3 separate regions of the Homo sapiens genome follow, and regions 1 and 2 are each linked to region 3. The links are contacts of gene promoters, found by promoter capture Hi-C in human tissues and cell types (Jung and others, 2019). All regions are on one chromosome and are shown on one strand. The core of a region is centred on a gene start or on the middle of the fragment in contact, and the rest is flanking DNA. Distances in the headings are between cores, read along the strand shown.

Region 1 (3,250 bases), core at 745-3,244, 410 kb after region 3:
CAACATTTTTTGTGTGTTTTCTTCTATTTCAAACATATAGAAACGTTGAAACATAGAGAAAAGTTCAAACATATTTCAAACACACAGAAAGGTTGAAATAATTGTACAGTTGAATATACCTAACACTAGTCTCTATAATTAACTACTTGCTACAGTTATCAGATATCAATTTGTCTATCCAACCATCTCTCCATAACATTTTTTGATTATTGTCTACTTTTTAGAAGTGTTTCTTTTTATATGTGTGTAGGACAGGTTGAAAACCCACTCAGGAAATTATTATCTCTTTGAACATTGTTCTACAAAAGCTTAATCAGGAGCTTTTTCAAATTTCAGGGCAAAAGAACTTGAAAGCTTCTCTCCTTTTCCTCTTTATTATCCTCTTATGCCTGTGTCCTGATTTTCCTCTCCTGTGGATTCTCGGAGACATGACTTCTCTTTCCCATCAGAGAGCAAGCTTTCTGAGTGAAGCATCATACTCGGTTACATCTCTCAGCCTAGCACAATATTGTTCTGGGTTAGAGGTAGGCTTTGGGGTCAGACAGGTCTGCACTTGATTCTGGCTCTGTCATTTACTACTGCGTGACCCAGAATGGGTGCTTTATTTATTTATTTGTTATTTTGGGGGACAGAGTCTCACTGTATCCTCCAGGCTGGAGTGCAGTGTCACGATCTCGGCTCACTGCAACCTCTGCTCCCAGGTTCAAGCGATTCTCCTGCCTCAGCCTCCTGAGTAGTTGGGATTACACACCCAGCTATTTTTTTGTATTTTTAGTAGATATGGGGTTTCACCATGTTGGTCAGGCTGGTCTCGAATTCCTGATCTTAGGTGATCCACCCACCTTGGCCTCCCAAAGTGCTGGGATTACAGGGGTGAGCCACCATGCCGGGCAACAGTGAGAGCTTTAACTCTCTAAGCCTCCTATGTAATGTGAGGACAATAGGTTTGTTGTGAGATCTAAAGATACATTTGTAAAGTGTAATTATTCTAGCAATTATTAAAATAGTTGGGGAGGAAAAGGAAAGGAGATTATTGCTTATGAATGACTCCTTTTGTGCTTTCCTTGTGAATATTTAGGTCCCAGAATTTACCCAGTGTGTTGTAATAATTTATATTTCTGTCTCCTGTCCTAGGTAAAAAGCTCTTGGAAGGCATGGATTGTCTTTTTTCTACCCAGCCTCAGCACCAGGCACAGAGTCTAGTTCAACAGATGTTAGTTATATCAATGAATATAATTCTAAGTGTCACAATTATCTTTAGATAATGATTTCAGAAAATTACAGAGACTTGAAAATCCAGAGAGCAATAAATCTTAGACTGCACAGATTCAATCTGTCTCCAGTTCTTCCCTCGTTGTGCATGAGGGCAAACTTAGGCTCAAGAAAGTTCACTATGTTTACTGCATATACATGTCTCAAAGCCCATGGACATGCTGCCCAGGGAAGGCAGGAGAAGCAGTCCCCTTGGATTAATCAGCTCCCACACATCCCCAAGGACAGTGAATCTAGGAGACCTCTTCCACCTGTTGGCATCTTTTTTTTTTTTTTTTGAGACAGAGTCTCGCTCTGTCACCCAGGCTGGAGCACAGTGGCGCGATCTCGGCTCACTGCAACCTCTGCCTCCCGGGTTCAAGCGATTCTCCTGCCTTGGCCTCCTGAGTAGCTGAGACTACAGGCGCACGCCGCCACACCTGGCTAATTTTTTTGTATTTTAGTAGAGATGGGGTTTCATTGTGTCGCCCAGGCTGGTTGCGAACTCCTGAGCTCAGGCAATCCGCCGCCCTTGGCCTGCGAAAGTGCTAGGATTGCAGGCATGAGCCACCGCGCCTGGCTGGCATCTTTAAAATGACACCAATGAAGCTTATGATTCTGGGGTCTAGCTGCTCTCTTCGTTGGTGAATAGGTGGATCACTTTGCAGACCTGTTCTACTTGGTGGGCATGCTTCTGAATATTTTTCTAAAGGTGCTGTAACTTTTGTTGCTTTCATTATTATACAAGTAAAATGTTTATTGTTGCAAGTTTTAGAAATGTAGAAATGCCAAATAAAAAGCAGTCACCTGCAAACTCACTGCTCAGAGGAAGCCCTATAAAGATTGCATCTTGTAGCTCTTCAGACTTCTGTCTGTGCGTGTTTATAGGTGTAACACAAACATTGCCAGCACTAACCACCCTGCATGTACAAATGAGGTCACATTTTCATGAATTCCTAGATTTTGCAGACCACACTCCCCATCCAAATAACATCAGTGCCTCAGTGTATTCACCTCTAGCCCTGTCTTCCTGTAGCCTTCCCCATTTGTTTTTGAAGCTCCCTAGCAGCTGCTGCACACATTTTGCACTTCATGCCTTTCTTCTCTCTCCTTCCCATCATCCTTTGGGGCCAGAAGGAACCAGGCTTCTCCCAGGCCTGGATATCATGGCCTCCATCTACCTTAGAGCTTCAAACTTCGGCTACATGGCTGTCGCATGTGGAATGGAGGAGCTTTCTACGTTATAGGAGATCTGCATGGGCTGGGTCCTCGTTTGGTCCTTGATTCAGTGTGTTGAAAGGGAGAGAAAAAAGAATTTGGAAAATCCTCTTAGGAAACTGGCTTGACTTACAGGGCAAAGTCCAATTTTGAAGGTCAAAGACTGCATGCATATTAAAGTCCTTCTCCTTGCATTCTTTTTGTAATAATTCAACTCTCTCTCCAGACAAATGCTCTGGAACAACTAGGAAGAAACTTACATATTTGGAAAAGTAACTTTAAAGAGCAGGTTATCAGTCTAGGCAACATAGCGAGACCACGTCTCTACAAAGAATAAAAAAGTTAGCCAGACGTGGTGGCACACACCTGGAGTCCCAGCTACTTGGGAGGCTGAGGCGGGAGGATTGTTTGGGAGGAGGTAGAGGCTGCAGTGAGCTCTGATCATGCCACTGCACTCTAGCCTGGGCAACAGAGCAAGATCCTATCTCAAAAAAAGTATATTACTACTTTTCAAAAATATTACCTCTATAGCATATAAGAATTTATTTAACAGATGCTTGTGGCAGGTTGTTTGCAAGTCTCACAGGATCCATATCCCCTGAAGTGCAGCCTGGACTATAATGCGGGCTCCTCCCTTTCAGACACATGGTGTGGTGCTTCGGTTAGTCAGGTCTTCTTTCACAGCTGTCAGTGAAGACTTGCTTTTTCTTTTGTTCATTGGTCTTCCACATCTCTTGTTAAGTTTATTCTTGTTTGTTCTTAGAAGTTTTATAATTTTTGT
Region 2 (3,437 bases), core at 911-3,410, 350 kb before region 3:
AATGTTCTTGTAATTTACTTGGTTGCCAACTTAGCACCTTGAGGCACAGAAAAGAACCATTGCCTTAGGAAGGAAGCTTTTCTGTAAACATGAGGGCAAATGGTCCAAGGTCCCTTATGTGCAGGCCTTCTTTCCTTTGCAGACCATTACCAACATTGTAGCATTGATTCAGCCCTCCTAGTGGCCATCTTAGGAGAGACTTCAAGGGGTAATCCCAGAGAACTGGGGAAGAAAACCCCAAAGTTACCACCAGCAGGGGAATCAATCCCCTCCACTCCTTCTCTCAAGCTTATCCCAGCCTAGGAATCTTGGTTTTAGGCAGGTCCCAGTCTCAACTGCCCCTACAACAGATGCCTGGTGAATATGGCCCCATTAAGATCCAAGTCCCCCTTTCTCTTCAGGGCTTATTGCAAATTAAGGGGGATCTTGGCAGGTTTTCAGATGGCCCTTAAGGTTATATATAGGCCTTCCAGAGCTTAACCCAAGTATTTGAGCTCTCCTGGAAGGATCACCATGTTACTTTTCAATCAAACCCTGACCAATGCTGCAAAGCAGGCCATTCTTGGCAAGTGGCAAAAAATTTTGGGAATGAGCTTTACATCTTGCATAGGGCCAGGGAAGGGGAGGAGCCTTATCTAGTTGGAAGAATAGCACTAACATTGGAGGACCCTAAATGGGACCCCAATGATGAAATGGGAGAATGGAGGAAGAAACTCTTTCAGGCGTGCATACTTGTGGGCTTGCCTGGGAATGGGCCTAGGCCTTTCAATTGCAGTGGACTATCCATGGTAGATCAAGAATTGGGTGGGAGTCCCACTGCCTCCCTAGAAAGGCTAAGAGGGGTCTTGGTAAAACACACCTATCTCTTGATTCAATAGGGTGACAGCTGGTCCTAGGGGATGAGTTTATTACTTAGTCAGCCCCTGATATCAGGAGGAAACTGCAGAAAAGTCCATAAGACCGGGTAATACTTTAGAGGACCTCCTGAAAGTGGCCACCTTGGTCTTTTACAACAGAGATCAGGAAGCCCGAGAGCAAGGAGACACAAGAAAAAGGCAAAGGCTCTAATAGCCACCTTGCACAAACCTCAGAATTCCTAAGCTGTACCTGTTGGCTGCTGTAAATGCAAACCATTGGAGGGCTAGCTGTCCCTGAGACATGGGCTGCCAGGTCCAGGGCCGGTCTCCCAAATGGTACAGTAGGGCTGATGGGTCCCAGGGTTCCTTTCCCTGACTTTGGTGATTCAGACTGCTATTGCCATCCTGGAGCCTCGGGTGATTTAGGGGATCGAGAGAAGGAGGATGGGCTTCCTCCTGGACTTGAGTGGGCCATTCAGGTCTCTTCTCCAATCTAGGCCCCTTCTCCAATATAGACCCCCTCCTCTGTTAGCATGACTGTGAGGGTCATCTCAGGAAAAGCCCAGCCTCTTAATTGTCGCCTTCTTAGGCTAGGTCCCCAATTCCTGGGACTCCCTTTATCTCCCTTGTTTCAGGAGGACCTGGCCCCACAGCTTCACCTGCTGTTGATAGGCAGGCAACAGAGGAGCAGCTCCTGGCAGTTGCTAGCTGCAATTTGGTGAGGACCATCTGGGACTAATTTAAAGGATTCATCCACCCTCCTTTTTTGGCACCTTTTTGTCCCAAGCTTCAGTTTGAAACCCTGGAATGGAATACTAGACCTGAGGTAGATGACAGTGGGAGTTGAGGGGCACAGTGCAGGTGAGTATGACTAATTCCCGCTAATTAGGTCCTCCCGTTTCATGGATGGAGGTCATGCTCGCATCCATGGCATAGATAAGGTCCAGGGAACTCAAAGGTTACTGACAGTGGAAGGCTTAGGCTCTGCTCAGGTGAGTGTGAATATTCCTGTTGGCTATGCCTCCCACTTCATGGATGAAGGTCACACTTGCACCCATGGTTGGGACTTGAACAGGTTGCCAGGACTCAGGTATATAAGCTTGAAAAAAGAAAGAGGAATGCCTTTTCTGCTCTGTGTCACGTACCCCGGGTATTCACTGGGAAGAGAGAGGAACAAAGGATGCCTTTTTCCCCTCTTTCCAGATGGGTAACCAACCAATCATTTTCAGCCTGCACTCCGTGGGCACATCCTAAATCACTGAACAGGACTTTAGAGTCAGTAGGGCTCCATGGCTTGGGGGAAGGGAACCCAGAAGTCTGAATGCCAGCAAAAGGGTAAAAATTCTTACCAGTTGGACTTCTGGCTTCTCTGTGGGCAAACTGGTTGCAGGAATGATAAAAATCACTATATTCTCTACCCCTCCATGAGTTCAAAAGCCAGAAGTGTTGGCCTTTGTGGCATGGCTGAAGTTGGGTAATAAGAGACTTAGGACTTCTTAAGAAAGGAGTGTTAGTTAAGTCAGCTTAATTAAAAGTCAGCTTAATTAAAAGTAGATGTCCATGGATATCCAAGCTATAGGTATATGTAAAAGGCCTTTATGTCTTTTCCCTTCGTGGATCTTGTTTTTGGGAAAAGGTTTTTTCTTCTCAGTCAACTGAATTCTCCATTTGTGTCTTGCCACTCTTTATGTGCAACATGAGGGGCCCCAACTTAACCTCAGATGGCCTAGGACTCCTTGGGAAAATGGAGGAGGTGCCACTGACCTGTTTTTGGGAAAAACCTCTGTTTTCCTGATAGAGCCTCAGAGATTAGAGGTGGATGGATCCCTCTCAATTTTTTTTTTTAATCTTCCAGCTATGCCTACTTATTAGACCACAGAAACTATGTTTTCCTGGCCCTGGTTCTTGAAGGGCTCCACCCCAGGGCCAGCAATGCAATTAAGAGATTGGCACATGAGGCCGGCCGCGGTGGCTTACGCCTGTAATCCCAGCACTTTTGGAGGCCGTGGTGGGTGGATCATGAGGTCAGGAGATCAAGACCATCCTGGCTAACATGGTGAAACCCCGTCTCTACTAAAAATACAAAAAAATTAGCCGGGCATGGTGGTGGGTGCCTGTAGTCCCAGCTACTAGGGAGGCTGATGCAGAAGAATGGCGTGAACCTGGGAGGCGGAGCTTGCAGTGAGCTGAGATCATGCCACTGCACTCCGACCTGGGTGACAGAGCGAGACTCCATCTCAAAAAAACAAAACAAAACAAAACAAAACAGATTGGCACATGAAAAATCTTACAACTACTGGATCTCCGTTTGTGTAGATATATATATGTCATGTGTGATGTTTACATAAAAGAGCTCTAACTGATTGGCTTAAAGAAAAATAGCACTGTTGGGCACGATGGTTCATGCCTGTAATCCCAGCACTTTGGGAGGCTGAGGCGGGCAGATCACTTGAGGTCAGGAGTTTGAGACCAGCCTGGCCAATGTGGTGAAACCCTGTCTCTACTAAAAATACAAAAAATTAGCCGGGTATGGTGGCTCGCACCTGTAGTCCCAGCTACACGGGAGGCTGAGGCATGAGA
Region 3 (3,294 bases), core at 272-2,771:
CAAATACCCCCTAGAAGTTACCCGCCACTTCATGCTCACCTCATGTAAATGAATTCGTAGCCTGCAATCAGTCTGATTGGTTGCAGAAAGCAGCCAAGCAGAGGCTGAAGTGAAGTTACAAAGGTCGCACACCTGTGCAAACATCTGATTGGTTGCAAGAAGCAACCAATCAGAGGCTAGGGTGAAGTTACAAAGTTATACTTCTATGCAAAGTTAGACTCGGCTGCAGTCAGTCTAATTGGTTGCAGATAGCCAATTTCCCATCTGCTGGGCAGAAAAGTTGGGTGGGGGGTTTGTTACTTAGGTGTGGAAAGTTAGGGTTTTCCTTTCAATTTAGTTCCAGGAAGTTGGCATGAACCAGTCTTAGGTTCCCTGCCTCCAGTCCCTATTCTCCTGCCTCAGAACCATCACCCAACATCCCTAGTGGGTAGCAGGGGAGAACCCTCTCCTGCCCCGCTCATGCCTAACTACCTGTAACAGTTTGGCTGTGTCCCCACCCAAAATCTCATCTTGAATTGTAATTCCCATAATCCCCCTGTGTCAAGGGCGGGAACAGGTGGAGGTAATTGGATGATGGGGCTGGTTTCCCCTGCGCCCTTCTCGTGACAGTGAGTGAGTCCCACAAGATCTGATGATTTTATAAGCGTCTGGCATTTCCCTTGCCTGCACTCACTCTGTCCTGCCACCCTGCGAAAAGGATGGCTACTTCTTTGCCTTTTGCCATGATTATAAGCTTCCTGAGGCCTCGCCAACAATGCGGAACTGTGAGTCAGACCTCTTTCCTTCATAGTATTTCTTCATAGCAGTGTCAGAACGGACTAATACAGTGGGTTTCCCATAACATTTGCAGGACTGCCTGCCCCATCCCCCTCTGGCTGTAAACAGCAGGAGTCACACACAGGCATCTTCCATGTCCCCCACACATCCGGCCCTGAAGGGCAGGGGGCGCATGGGTTCTACGTTTCATCAGGGGTTCCGAACCCTGGCTATGCACTGGAGGCCAACCCCACCTCACCCCACCCCACTCCACCCCAGTGGTTCTGAGTCGGTCCAGTGTGAGGTCAGCCCTCCTTCTGTTGTTTGGTTAGTTTCCACACTAGGTTCTACTGGGAAGCCAGCGTTGAGAACCGCCGCCTCAGGCGAAGCTGGGACTCACACCCACCGGCCCTGGAGGCCCGCGGAAGGTTTCCCTGGGTTCCAGCACCCGGGAGCCGCGCGTCGCCAGGCACCACCCCGCGGGGGCGGGCGCGGGCCGCAGAAGATTGGGCCACGGCGGAAGCCTCTCCGCTCCCTTAGCGGGAAAGCTCTGCGCGTGACTCGGCTGCGCCCATCGCTGCGGGAGCCGGGGAGGGGGCGAGCACCTTAGGCCGGGCGGACCGAACCAACGCGCCGCCCGGAGGGGCGGCCTGAGGGCAACCCAGATCGGACCATCGCGCCACGCCGACAGGGGCCGGCCTTTCCAACCCGCCCGGAGGGAGGGGCCGCCGGCGCCTCTAGCCTGCAACGCGACCCCTGGAGGGCGAGACACGCCGCCGCCGCCGCCGCCGCCGGCGCGGAAGGACGAGGCTGAGGCGAGAAACGAGGTAGGAACGCCTCTCCGGAGGCGGGCAGGGTCCCACAGACCCACTGCCCCGCGTTCCAAGGTCTCCCTTAGGGGAGGGCCTGTCTTCCCACCTATGTGCCTTCAGCGCCTGCCCTTCCCTTCAGCCCTTCCCCCTCGGCTGCACCCGCCCTCTGCGTCCGCCCCGACCCCCTGGGCAGACCTCGTCCCCAGCCCTTCTGACCCTTGGCCTTCTCCTGACCCTTCAGCTCTGCGTCCACCGGACCTTCAAACACCCAGCACCCACCGTCCCTTTGGGCGCCACCCCAGATGCATCCCCAACCGTCTCCTCAAACTGCCCCCTTGGGGACACCCTCCCCCCACAAAACGACTCGCGCCCAGTAGTCACCTTGGTACCCCAAGTCCCTGTGACGGCTTTGGGGAAGCGTGGCCGCCCGGCACCCAGGCCGGCGACTGCAGCGGGGGCCTCCCTACTGCCAGTTCCCGGCCGGGTCCTCTGCTCCCTCCACCCTTTTAGCCCCTGCCTCCCTTTATTATCCGCCCGGCGCCGGCGTTGCTTCAGTCTCTGTCTCTCTGTCATCCAGTTTTACCTGGAGAAAACCTTTGGCTTGGCAGTAACCGTCCCCTACTACTGCACTCACTTGCCGCGAAGGGCACGGTGATCCTGTTGCCCACAGTTGGCTGTGGCCCTCCAGGCCGGCCCTGCGGACACGGGGAACTGTCCTGGGGGCAAGGACGGTACACTACTCATCTTTGTATCCCCGGTCCCCAGCACGGTGCCTGGCACATGGTAGTGTTGCTGGTGGAGGGTCTTCACTACCAGTTGTCCTTTGCGTTTTGAACAAGTAATTGAGCAGCGGAGGAATGAAACGCAGGAACAAGTAGATCTGAGTCAGGCAAGGATTACCACTATGTGAACAGTGTCCGTGATAAAGAACACAGGCCTTAAAAAAAAAAAAAAGGCGGAATTTACAAAGGACAAAGGGCCTGAAACCTGTTTTTATTTATTCCTAGGTGGGTGACCTGAGCAGATTTAGTTTCCTGGGGGTTTGGGTTCCACGCGGAAGCAGGTGGTATCGCTGAGGGATGAAACAATGGCTGGAAAGCTGTAGGAGTTGATAAGGTAGAAAGTAGTTACCTAATTAGTAGTGGCATTATTGTAACTGGGGCTCAAAGTATTAGCAAATAAAAGTAGTGACTGGATTTTCTTAGCCGGCTCCTTAGATATTAAGCAGTGGTGGATGGCTTAATGGAAGGAAGAGCAGATCCAAACAGTATACCTGGTATTCTGTTAGTTATGCCCGTCCTGCTGTATGGCCAGCCACTGTTTCTCTTCTGTTTTGAGCCAGGTTAGGATCCCTCTGATTTCTGTGCTGGTATTTAAGATTCCTTTTTGAAGCCACAGTTGCCTTAACTGGAGGCTGGACATGTTCTCATTCATCCATTGCTAGTTTTGATGTATCCTTTTCCGCTTTCTGTCTCCCACCCTCTTACATGTCTTTATAAAGTCTTGGATCAGGCCAGGCACAGTGGCTCAGCCTGTAATCCCGGCACTTTGGGAGGCCCAGGTGGGCGGATCACTAGAGGTCAGAAGTTCAAGATCAGCCTGGCCAACATGGTGAAACCCCATCTCTACTAAAAATACAAAAATTACCGGGCATGGTGGTGTGCACATGTAGTCCCAGCAACTCAGGAGGCTGAAGTCCCAGCAACTCAGGAGGCTGAGGCAGGAG

What was found. Contacts are between HindIII fragments. The study calls those that stand out against the background at their distance.
Region 1: a contact is called between a fragment that was not itself captured here and the fragment with the promoter of RUSC2 in region 3, in 1 of the 25 tissues and cell types used here (spleen).
Region 2: a fragment that was not itself captured here is called in contact with the fragment with the promoter of RUSC2 in region 3 in 5 of the 25 tissues and cell types used here (IMR-90 fibroblasts, aorta, dorsolateral prefrontal cortex and 2 more).

What each region holds. Positions count from the first base shown.
Region 1 is chr9:35,893,669-35,896,918 of GRCh38, forward strand. No RefSeq gene overlaps it. Among named protein-coding and RNA genes, the nearest start is that of HRCT1, 11 kb to the right of the region's middle. RefSeq lists an enhancer at 1,722-2,221. The HindIII fragment of the contact is 7,635 bases long and covers 1-3,250 here.
Region 2 is chr9:35,140,378-35,143,814 of GRCh38, forward strand. No RefSeq gene overlaps it. Among named protein-coding and RNA genes, the nearest start is that of UNC13B, 20 kb to the right of the region's middle. The HindIII fragment of the contact is 3,957 bases long and covers 183-3,437 here.
Region 3 is chr9:35,488,590-35,491,883 of GRCh38, forward strand. RUSC2 (RUN and SH3 domain containing 2) reads left to right here and starts at 1,522. Exons shown (of 12, transcript NM_014806.5): 1 at 1,522-1,583. LOC105376026 (a long non-coding RNA gene) reads right to left here and starts at 3,038. Exons shown (of 2, transcript XR_929580.4): 1 at 2,842-3,038; 2 at 2,530-2,667. RefSeq lists a silencer at 1,191-1,490. The HindIII fragment of the contact is 10,278 bases long and covers 1-3,294 here.